Linked DNA regions of Homo sapiens: region 1 is linked to region 2. The links are contacts of gene promoters, found by promoter capture Hi-C in blood cells and fetal thymus (Javierre and others, 2016). All regions are on one chromosome and are shown on one strand. The core of a region is centred on a gene start or on the middle of the fragment in contact, and the rest is flanking DNA. Distances in the headings are between cores, read along the strand shown.

The links. Contacts are between HindIII fragments. The CHiCAGO score rates a contact against its expected background, and 5 or more counts as called.
Region 1: a contact is called between a fragment that was not itself captured here and the fragment with the promoter of AGBL3 in region 2, in 1 of 17 cell types (neutrophils). The highest score is 5.1, in neutrophils.

What each region holds. Positions count from the first base shown.
Region 1 is chr7:135,243,750-135,248,253 of GRCh38, reverse strand. STRA8 (stimulated by retinoic acid 8) reads right to left here. Exons shown (of 9, transcript NM_001394401.1): 5 at 2,727-2,966; 6 at 1,552-1,837. Among named protein-coding and RNA genes, the nearest start is that of STRA8, 12 kb to the right of the region's middle. The HindIII fragment of the contact is 6,230 bases long and covers 1-4,504 here.
Region 2 is chr7:134,983,917-134,988,072 of GRCh38, reverse strand. AGBL3 (AGBL carboxypeptidase 3) reads right to left here and starts at 1,565. Exons shown (of 17, transcript NM_178563.4): 1 at 1,372-1,565; 2 at 77-198. The coding sequence starts at 139. RefSeq lists enhancers at 874-1,133, 1,214-1,353, 1,364-1,663. The HindIII fragment of the contact is 3,121 bases long and covers 1-2,621 here.

The DNA.
Region 1 (4,504 bases), core at 1,350-3,849, 260 kb before region 2:
TCACACTGCTGGTTAGGCCTGCAAACTGGAAGGACAGGAATGGGTGACATCTCTGTCGTTCTCCAGGCTTGGGCCTGATAGCTGAGGAACCTTCTAAAAAACGGAGGCATTCCAGGGCTGTAACTCCAGGGTCAGAGACAATCGGACGCTCTCTGGCCCTAAGGCTCCACAGAGAGACTCTGGGAAACTAGCATGTCGTCTCCTCAAAGGCGCCCCGACTGAGGAGCATTTGGAAAGTCAGGGCAAGGGGGTGGCCTGTATCAGGCGGAAGCCATGGATGCTAAATGTCCACGAAGCACAGGGCATGTGCAGAATGCGAATCGGCTGCGCCTGGGCTAGAGGAGCGAGCGTGGGCCGTGTGGTAGAGCAGTGTTCTGAGGCCGTCCTCATACTGGAAGAGCAGCTGTGGGCCCACTTTTATCTCCGTGCAGGGCGACCTCAAATGCTACCTGATGCTCTGCTTTGCAGACTATGGCCACGGCCATTCTGACTAGCGTTCTGAAAGCTGAGAAATGCATTTACGGTAGCAGTTGTGGTAACCTCCCCTTCACAGAGCGATCCCAGTGCTCTTTGGGGTGGGAACTGACGGCCTTTCAAGGGCTGGACCTGATTGGTCCAAGTGTGATTCCCTCTATGGCCAGTCATTGGCTCAGCAGGCTGGCAATTTGGCCAGTTCCAACCAATGAGAGGGGAGGAGCGGTTCCGGAAAAGTTCTTCCTTAACTCTTAAGAAAGAGCTTTCGTAGGAAATCTTTGTCTTACCTGATGTAGAGTAGGAAGAAAGACAGTTCGATTGCTCTAGCTGCCATTCCATAGCCACAGGAGCCGGAGGAGGTGGGGAGGGCAGGGAAAGATAAGAAACTGAGCAGAGCCAAGAGAGGCCTGAATCCACGCGGACATGGTGAGCTCCTCTGCCTGCCTCGGACCTCCCCGGGTGTGAGGAGTGCATTTCTTCGTGGTTTAATAATCCAGGCCCTGGCAGCCCAAAGAATCCCAACTGAGACAACCTCTCAAGACTTGTCTTCTGCCATCCCCAGGGAAAGGCCAGGAAACTAACCGCAGAAAAACAAATACTGTTCCGTGACCCCAGGGATTAGAAAATCAGAAACCGGCCGGGCGCGGTGGCTCACGCCTGTAATCCCAGCACTTCGGAAGGCCGAGGCGGGTGGATCACGAGGTAAGGAGATCGAGACCATCCTGGCTAACACAGTGAAACCCCGTCTCTACTAAAAATACAAAAAAATTAGCCGGGCGTGGTGGCGGGCGCCTGTAGTCCCAGCTATTCGGGAGGCTGAGGCAGGAGAATGAGGTGAACCCGGGAGCCAGAGCTTGCAGTGAGCCGAGATCGCGCCACTGCACTCCAGCCTGGGCGACAGAGCGAGACTCCGTCTCAAAAAAAAAAAAAAGAGAAAAAAGAAAATCAGAAACCGACCTTGGGAGCCAGAAGGCAAACTGCACCTCCAACCTGCTAAATGCAAAGCCCTGGTGTCCCCAGGCGAGGGCGAGGGTGGTTCCCGTGCCCCATCCACGCCACCCCGGTGGGCCTGCTCACCTCCTCGGGCGTGGAGACCAGCGAGCAGCTGGCCCCCTGGCTGTCCACGCCGCTGTCCTTCACGCTGCCCTCGGCACAGGCCGGCTCTCGGCAGGCCTCCGCCAGGGTCGCAGGGCCGCGGTGCTTCTGCGCCCAGGCCTGCCGGAGGCTGGCCTTCCTCTCCTCCGAGAGGTTCTGCCACAGGTGGGAGATGGCCGCGGAGACGATGGGCAGCGCCGCCTCCTGCGGGGTAATGATCCCGCTGCCAGTCAGAAGGTCCATCGTCTGTTTGTAAAAGTTGAGATACCTGGAACAGAAGCGGCGCCGTCTCGCACCCCTAAAGCTCCCTCTCGAAGCGATTCGGGATTCGGTTCATGGTGTGGACCCCAGCACGCAGGCCCGGCCACGGCGCCACGGCTCACCAGGGCTGAGACTTCTCAGACTCTGCACGCCCCTGGCCCTTGGAGAGCAGCAGCCTTCCTGGGGGCCATGAAGGACATAGACTTGGGCTTTGGGGCCCCTCCCCAAGTTCTCCCAGTCCCTGCCCCATGAAGCCTTCTGTGTTAGACAGAAGCAGATAAGAGGCGTAGCTGCCTCAGCTCTCATCCTAAGGGAATATTCTTGAAAATTCTGAGCCCATGAATGTGCTGGCATGATAGGACTCCAACTTTAACCTGCAGCCCGAAAGTCAGGCTCGGCTGTGGAGAGAGCCTCCTGCTATTGAGCCAACTCCTCTGGAAGCCAACATGGCTGCTGAGGGGCTTTGAGTCTATGGAGGAGGCAGTGGCAAGGGACGTCTGAGCCAGCCATTCGCCATCTTTCCTACTGTAAGAGCAGTGCGGACTTGTGGGGGTATGTGTTTTGGGGGAGAGAGGGGTTAGCCCTCATAATCACCATCAGCTGTGCCCCCCACAAGGCACCCCAAATAAACACCCAGTCTCAGTAAAAACACTGTATGAGTGTATGTGCTATGCTAATGTAGCTTTGAGACTATTTCTCTAGCCTCTCTGCCAGTCCTGTCCCTCAGCCCCTCCCATATGAAAATCCTGGAGATTTCGTGATTCAGGGCCTAGTCTGAACCATGCACTCCAGCTGGGGCACACAGCTGCAGCATACCCCAGCCAGAGCCTCTGTCCCCTTCCCCATGGGAGGGAGCTCCATGGGTGCACAGAGCCACCCCACCCAACTGTTCACACCGTTCAAATTCCATGAGGTCAGGCGACAAAGTTCCTGGGGAGTATAAGATCACTTTTTTCTCCTCTTCCTCCTCCTCCTCTTCCTCTTCCTCCTCTTCCTCCTCCTCCTCTTCTTCTTCCTCCTCCTCTTCTTCTTGATCTTCCTCTTCCTCATCTTCCTCCTCCTCAGCATCCTTCCTGACTGCCTCAGTTGGGCACCAAGGGGAGGAACCATTCTGAGGAAAACTGTTTGAAAGCAGGCTGGGAAAGAAAACAGAAACAAGACAACTATAGATTAATATCCCTCATGAACATGGACAAGAAATTCTTAGCAACTTTAGCAAGTATACATGTATATGTATGTGTGTGTGTGTAGGTGTACACATCATGACCAAATGAGCTTTTTCCTAGGAATGCAAGAGAACTGGTTCAACATTTGAAAATCAATCAATGCAATTCACCATATCAACAGACTACAGAAGAAAAACCTCAATAGATGCAGAAAAAGCATCTGACAAAATCAACATCCATGCATGATAAAAACTCTCAGCAAACTAGGAATAAAAAGGAGCTTTGTTAACCTGATAAAGGGTATCTCCAAAAAACCTACCGCTAACATCGTGCTTAATGGCAAAAGACAGTTTCCCCTCTTGATCAGGAATAAAATGAGACTGTCCACTCTTACTACTTCTATTCAAAATTGTTCTGGAGGTTCTAGACAGTCCAGTAAGGCAAGCAAAAAAAGGAATATACATTGGAGCAGAAGAGACAAATCTGTCTTTATTTGCAGACAGTGTGATTATCTGTGTAGAAAAATCTCAAATAATCTACACACATGTCATTAGAACCAAGAAGGGAATTTAGCAAGGTTGCAGAAGACAATATCAGAATATAAAAATGAATAATATTGCTACATAGTAGCAATGAACAGTTGGAAATTGAAATTTTAAAAAGCATCATTTACAATAGCATGAAAAAATGACATACTTAGTTTTAAACAAAAAGCTCAATCTATTAAAAACAGGATAAATTGGACTCATCAAAATTTGCAAATTCTGCTCTTCAAAAGACACCTTGAAGAGAATGAAACAATAGGATATAATTTGGAAAAGTCAGGACCTGCACCCAGGATCTCTTTATACTTAGAGGAATAATCCCCAAGGTAACATGTTGAGTCAAAAAAGCAAGCTCAGCTGGGCGTGGTAGCTCACACCTGTAATCCCAACACTTTGGGAGGCCAAGGCAGGTAGATACCTTGAGGTCAGAGTTTGAGACCAGCTTGGGCAACATGTTGAAACCCCGTGTCTACTAAAAATACAAAAACTAGCCAGGCGTGGTGGCAGGCGCCTGTAATCCCAGCTACTTGGGAGTCTGAGGCAGGAGAAGTTCTTGAACCTGGGAGGCAAAGGTGGCAGTGAACTGAGATCATGCCACTGCACTCCAGCCTGGGTGACAGAGTGAGACTCCGTCTCAAAAAACAAACCAAACCAAACCAAAAACAAAAACAAAAAACCATGAGATCATAAAAGTACATTTCTCAAATCAGTTTCTCCTTCAAAGTATGAATGTGACATTAATAATGTTCCCCTTTCAGCATTTGTGACACCTGGGTGTACCATGGTTCCTTTTCGTTGCTGAAGTTTAATTTAGCTTTTCTTAGGAGGCTTGGAATATAGACTGAGATTTGCATTTTCCTGATTGTCATATGTATCCTCCAAGAAAGACATTAGTTGTGGCTTTAAAAAATACATATAGAAAAAGCTATAATATAATGTAAACACTATGGGCTCATTTCTCTA
Region 2 (4,156 bases), core at 316-2,815:
TTTTATAATATTTTAATTGGGGATTTATATAATACAAATTTTATCTCCAAGTAAAATAAAGTTGAGAAAAACATACCGATTCATCTTCATCACTGATTGTTCTGTCTGAATAGTCTTCCTTTTCTGAATCTTCTGACATCTTTTCCAGTGTTTGACTTGAGATTTCTTGTAATATACGGGTAGGCTGTAAAACAATTTCTAAGGAAATTATATGACAGCTTTTCTTTTCAAGCTGTAGGTGTTTACTACATTAAATGAGTACTCAAAAATATATTCAATTGTATTTAACAGTCACAACAGTCTTCTCTAAAAACTAATTAGAATACAACTAATAAAACCTTCAATTTCAAAGAGTTAAAGGAATTTTCCATGACTATACGAGACAACAACCACAATAAGACAAATCAAGCAAATCATTTAATTAAAAGGAATTTCCAGAGTATACAGCCAAATCATTCACATTTTATATTTACAATTAAATACTACACAGCAAGTTCAGAATGATCCTGAGGCATTAAAAGATAATGAATTTAAAAATTATAGTCACTTACTGAAATGTAGCAATATAATTTTAAGTTTTCTCCTTGATTTTCACTTGACCAAAAGTTCAAGTGACAAGACTTTACATTTTGATTATTATTCTGTAGATACTGTCTGTTCTAATATTCATTTATATTATTCTTATTCTTAGAAATCTAAATAGCTACCAGAAGGTTGTATTGGTAATGACCATTACCATTCTATGCAAGTATCTTCCCATGTGGGTAATATCAAGACCAGGGAATAATCGAAATTTCTTGTCAAGTTCCCATCGTTCTTGAGAGACCAAAGGACTCGACAATTTCAAATCTATTAGTTTACGCCCCTCTCTACAGGAAGCGTGTTTTGGAGCGTGGACTACATATAAGTTAAGTCCAAGCTCTATGGCAAATCACTGCCAATGCCACGGAACCGACTGTCTCATAGATGACACCTTCAGTCCTAAGAAACTGAAGTTTCTGCCTGGGCATCACAACTCCACATTTGGAAAATCCGACTGGCCTAAATTCCATTCCTTACAGGTGCACACAGGGCGCACGAAGTGCTGACCTGCTGCGGATACAGCTCTGGTCTCAGGAAACGGCCCTTATCCACCGGCGCTCCGCGGGTGTCTTCCACCACTGCGGAGGAGGGGCAGATGCGGGCGCGTCCACGCTTAGCCGCGTCCCGACAGTACCAAGGCGTTTTTGGCGGGAAGCACGATGAGGCCACAACTCCGGGCGGCCGAGTTCCTTCCCGCACTCACTCCTGGACACCTTGGTGTGGGGAGGCGCTCATTTTCCGGGGCGCGCTCGCTTCCCGCAGGGGGCGCCCCGCCTTACTTCTGCATACCTCACCGTCCTGTCGGGGCCGGCACCTCGCTCCCACGCGAGTCCTCTGGCCAGGCCAGTCGTCGCTTCCGTGCGGGGAGAATATCTCGGGATCTCGCGATCTCGCGGAGAACCCGGTATCCAGCCGCTAGAAGTAACGCCACTGCTGGAGATCCGCAGCCCCAGCCACACTCCCAACTCTCGTCATCAGGCAACGGGTCCGCCCTCGCGAGACTTCGGACAGCCTTCGGAGATCACCTAGCAACCAGCTCGGAGGAAAGGAGCCTGCGTAGGTTTTGGCTCCAGGAAGAGGGATCCCAGAGGATGCCGGGAACTCGGGGTGGGCCGCAGGGCGGTCAGAGAGGCTCTCAGAGAGGCTTTGGGGTCTGTCGGGAGAATTTAGGAGTGGGGAAGACCGGGCAGCTATTTATTCCCAGTGGTCTGCACTTCGGCTGTTGCCTCAGAGGAGGCAGTAGAGCATGCTGGTTAGGACTGTGCTTTGGAGCCCACCTGACTTTTAACAGTGTGACATTGAACAAATTAATTACCTGGACTTCATGGGTACAATACTTGTAACTACTACTTGGAGATGTTAGAATATTAAAAAGTACGTTGGTCTTGATTTTTTACAGACTGAGTTCCATTCTACACAATTGTGCGATTAATTCGCTTATTCGATTCTGGAAAATGAGGCTTTTCTCCTTAAATACTAAATGGAGAGTCATAGATGAACTAGGGTGAATTCTCAAAATTATCAGCTCAGAGATTCTTTATAGCAATCGTCAGCTAGCATATTTAACACTGTTTTCCTGATGACTGCAAATCACTATATGTAGTCTCATTTAGTTAACAGACGTTATTCATGAACATCCCATATTGATTTTTTCCCTCATCTTTAGCTCTACAGGGTAAGGTAATCTATTTGGAAAAGTTTTCCAAGTACAGCTGAAAAAAAGTCTAGATTTTGATGATATAAGAATGTAAATAAACACTTTTCACAAAGCGTTATATGTCATGAGATTCGTGATATTGTAGAAATGGAGATAATAAATGGTAGCAAGTTTGAAAGTAGAATAAAGGGCAAAGCACTATGGCTTAAGCATGGAAATGGGTTAACATAATCTCTTTGTATTTTGTAAGTATCTGAAAATAGGTGTTTTTGAGGTCAGCAGTTTAAAAGTATGAACCTTCCAGATTAGACCTTGGCCAGAGAATATTAATAGAGTATATCTTAGATCAACCTCTTGAAAAGTAGCTCTTATAGTTGAAGCTTGTTTTATGCCATACATAAATCACTAAAGGTGACATGCACAGAGAAATCTTTATTTATGTAATCTGTTTTTCTGTTGGATTTTAGTCATGGCTGCAAGCCATAGGATGTCAGCTGTACAAGGTAAAACTGAGAAATGGTCTAACCAGGTTATATAAGAAATTAATGGCAGGGCTGAGAGACTTAAGTCTCGTGATTTTTAGTCCAAATAGTTATATTATCACATACCAAGTAGTCCATGGGAAGAAAAATGATCTTAATGCATAATTTTAAAAACTTAGGATTTTTTTTTTTTTTTTGAGACAGAATCTCACTTGCTCTGTCGCCCAGGCTGGAGTGCTGTGGTGCAATCTCAGCTCACTGCAACCTCTGCCTTTGGGGTTCAGGTGATTCTCATGCATCCTGACTAGCTGGGACTACAGGCACGTGCCACCACTAATTTTTGTATTTTTTAGTAGAGACGTGGTGTCACCATGTTGGCCAGTGTGGTCTCAAACTCCTGGTGTCAAGTGATCCGTCTACCTCAGCCTCCCAAAGTACTGGGATTACAGGTGTGAGTCACCGTGCCTGGCCAAAAACTTAGGAACTTGGCAAAACTTTGAAAATGATATTCATTCATTATTTTATTAACAACTTTTTTCTTTTTAAAGACAGCTCTGTCACCCAGGTTGGGGTGTAGAGGCACAATCATAGCTCACTGCAGACTCAAACTACTGGTCCCAAGAGATCCTCATGCCTTGGTATAACAAATTCACTGGATGGCTGCTGCCTACTAGGGACAGTTCACTATTGCAAGGAAAAAAACCAGACATTTATTGTGGAGGTTATGTTCTGGTGGGAGTAATCAAACAAACCAATGATGATAATAAAAATGATATCACTCAGACAATAACCGCTATGGAGAGAAATCAAGTAGGGGGGAAAAAAAAGAATAGGGGATGCTGGGAGTGGGGGGCCTTGCTAGGTTACTCTTTTAGATGGAATGGCCAGGGAAGGCCTCTCTGGCTAGGGGGCATTTGAGCAGAGGGATGAACTGTAGGATGTCTTAGGGGGAGACTCTGCCAGGCAGGGTAAGCAGCAAGTACATAGACTGAGAAGTCTGTGTTATGAACTACAGTTGAGCCTTGAACAACTCGGGGGTTAGGGGTATCGTCCTCTACATAGTTGAAAATCTGCATATAACTTTTGACTCCCCAGAAACTTAACTACTGAGAGCCTACTGTTGACTGGAACCCTTACTGATGACATAAACAGTTGATTAGCACATATTTTGTATGTTATATGTGTTATATACTGTATTCTTACAACAAAGTAAGATGAAATGTTATTAAGAAAGTTATAAGGAAGAGAAAGTGTATTCATTAAATGTAAGTCATTCATCATAATGGTCTTCATCCTTGTCTTCACATTGAGTAGGCTGAGGAAGAGGAGGAAGAAGAGGAAGAGGAAGGGTTATTTTATTAACAATTTTTTTCTTTTTAAAGACAGCTCTGTTACCCAGGTTGGAGTGTAGTGGAGTTGCTGTCTCAGGGGTGGC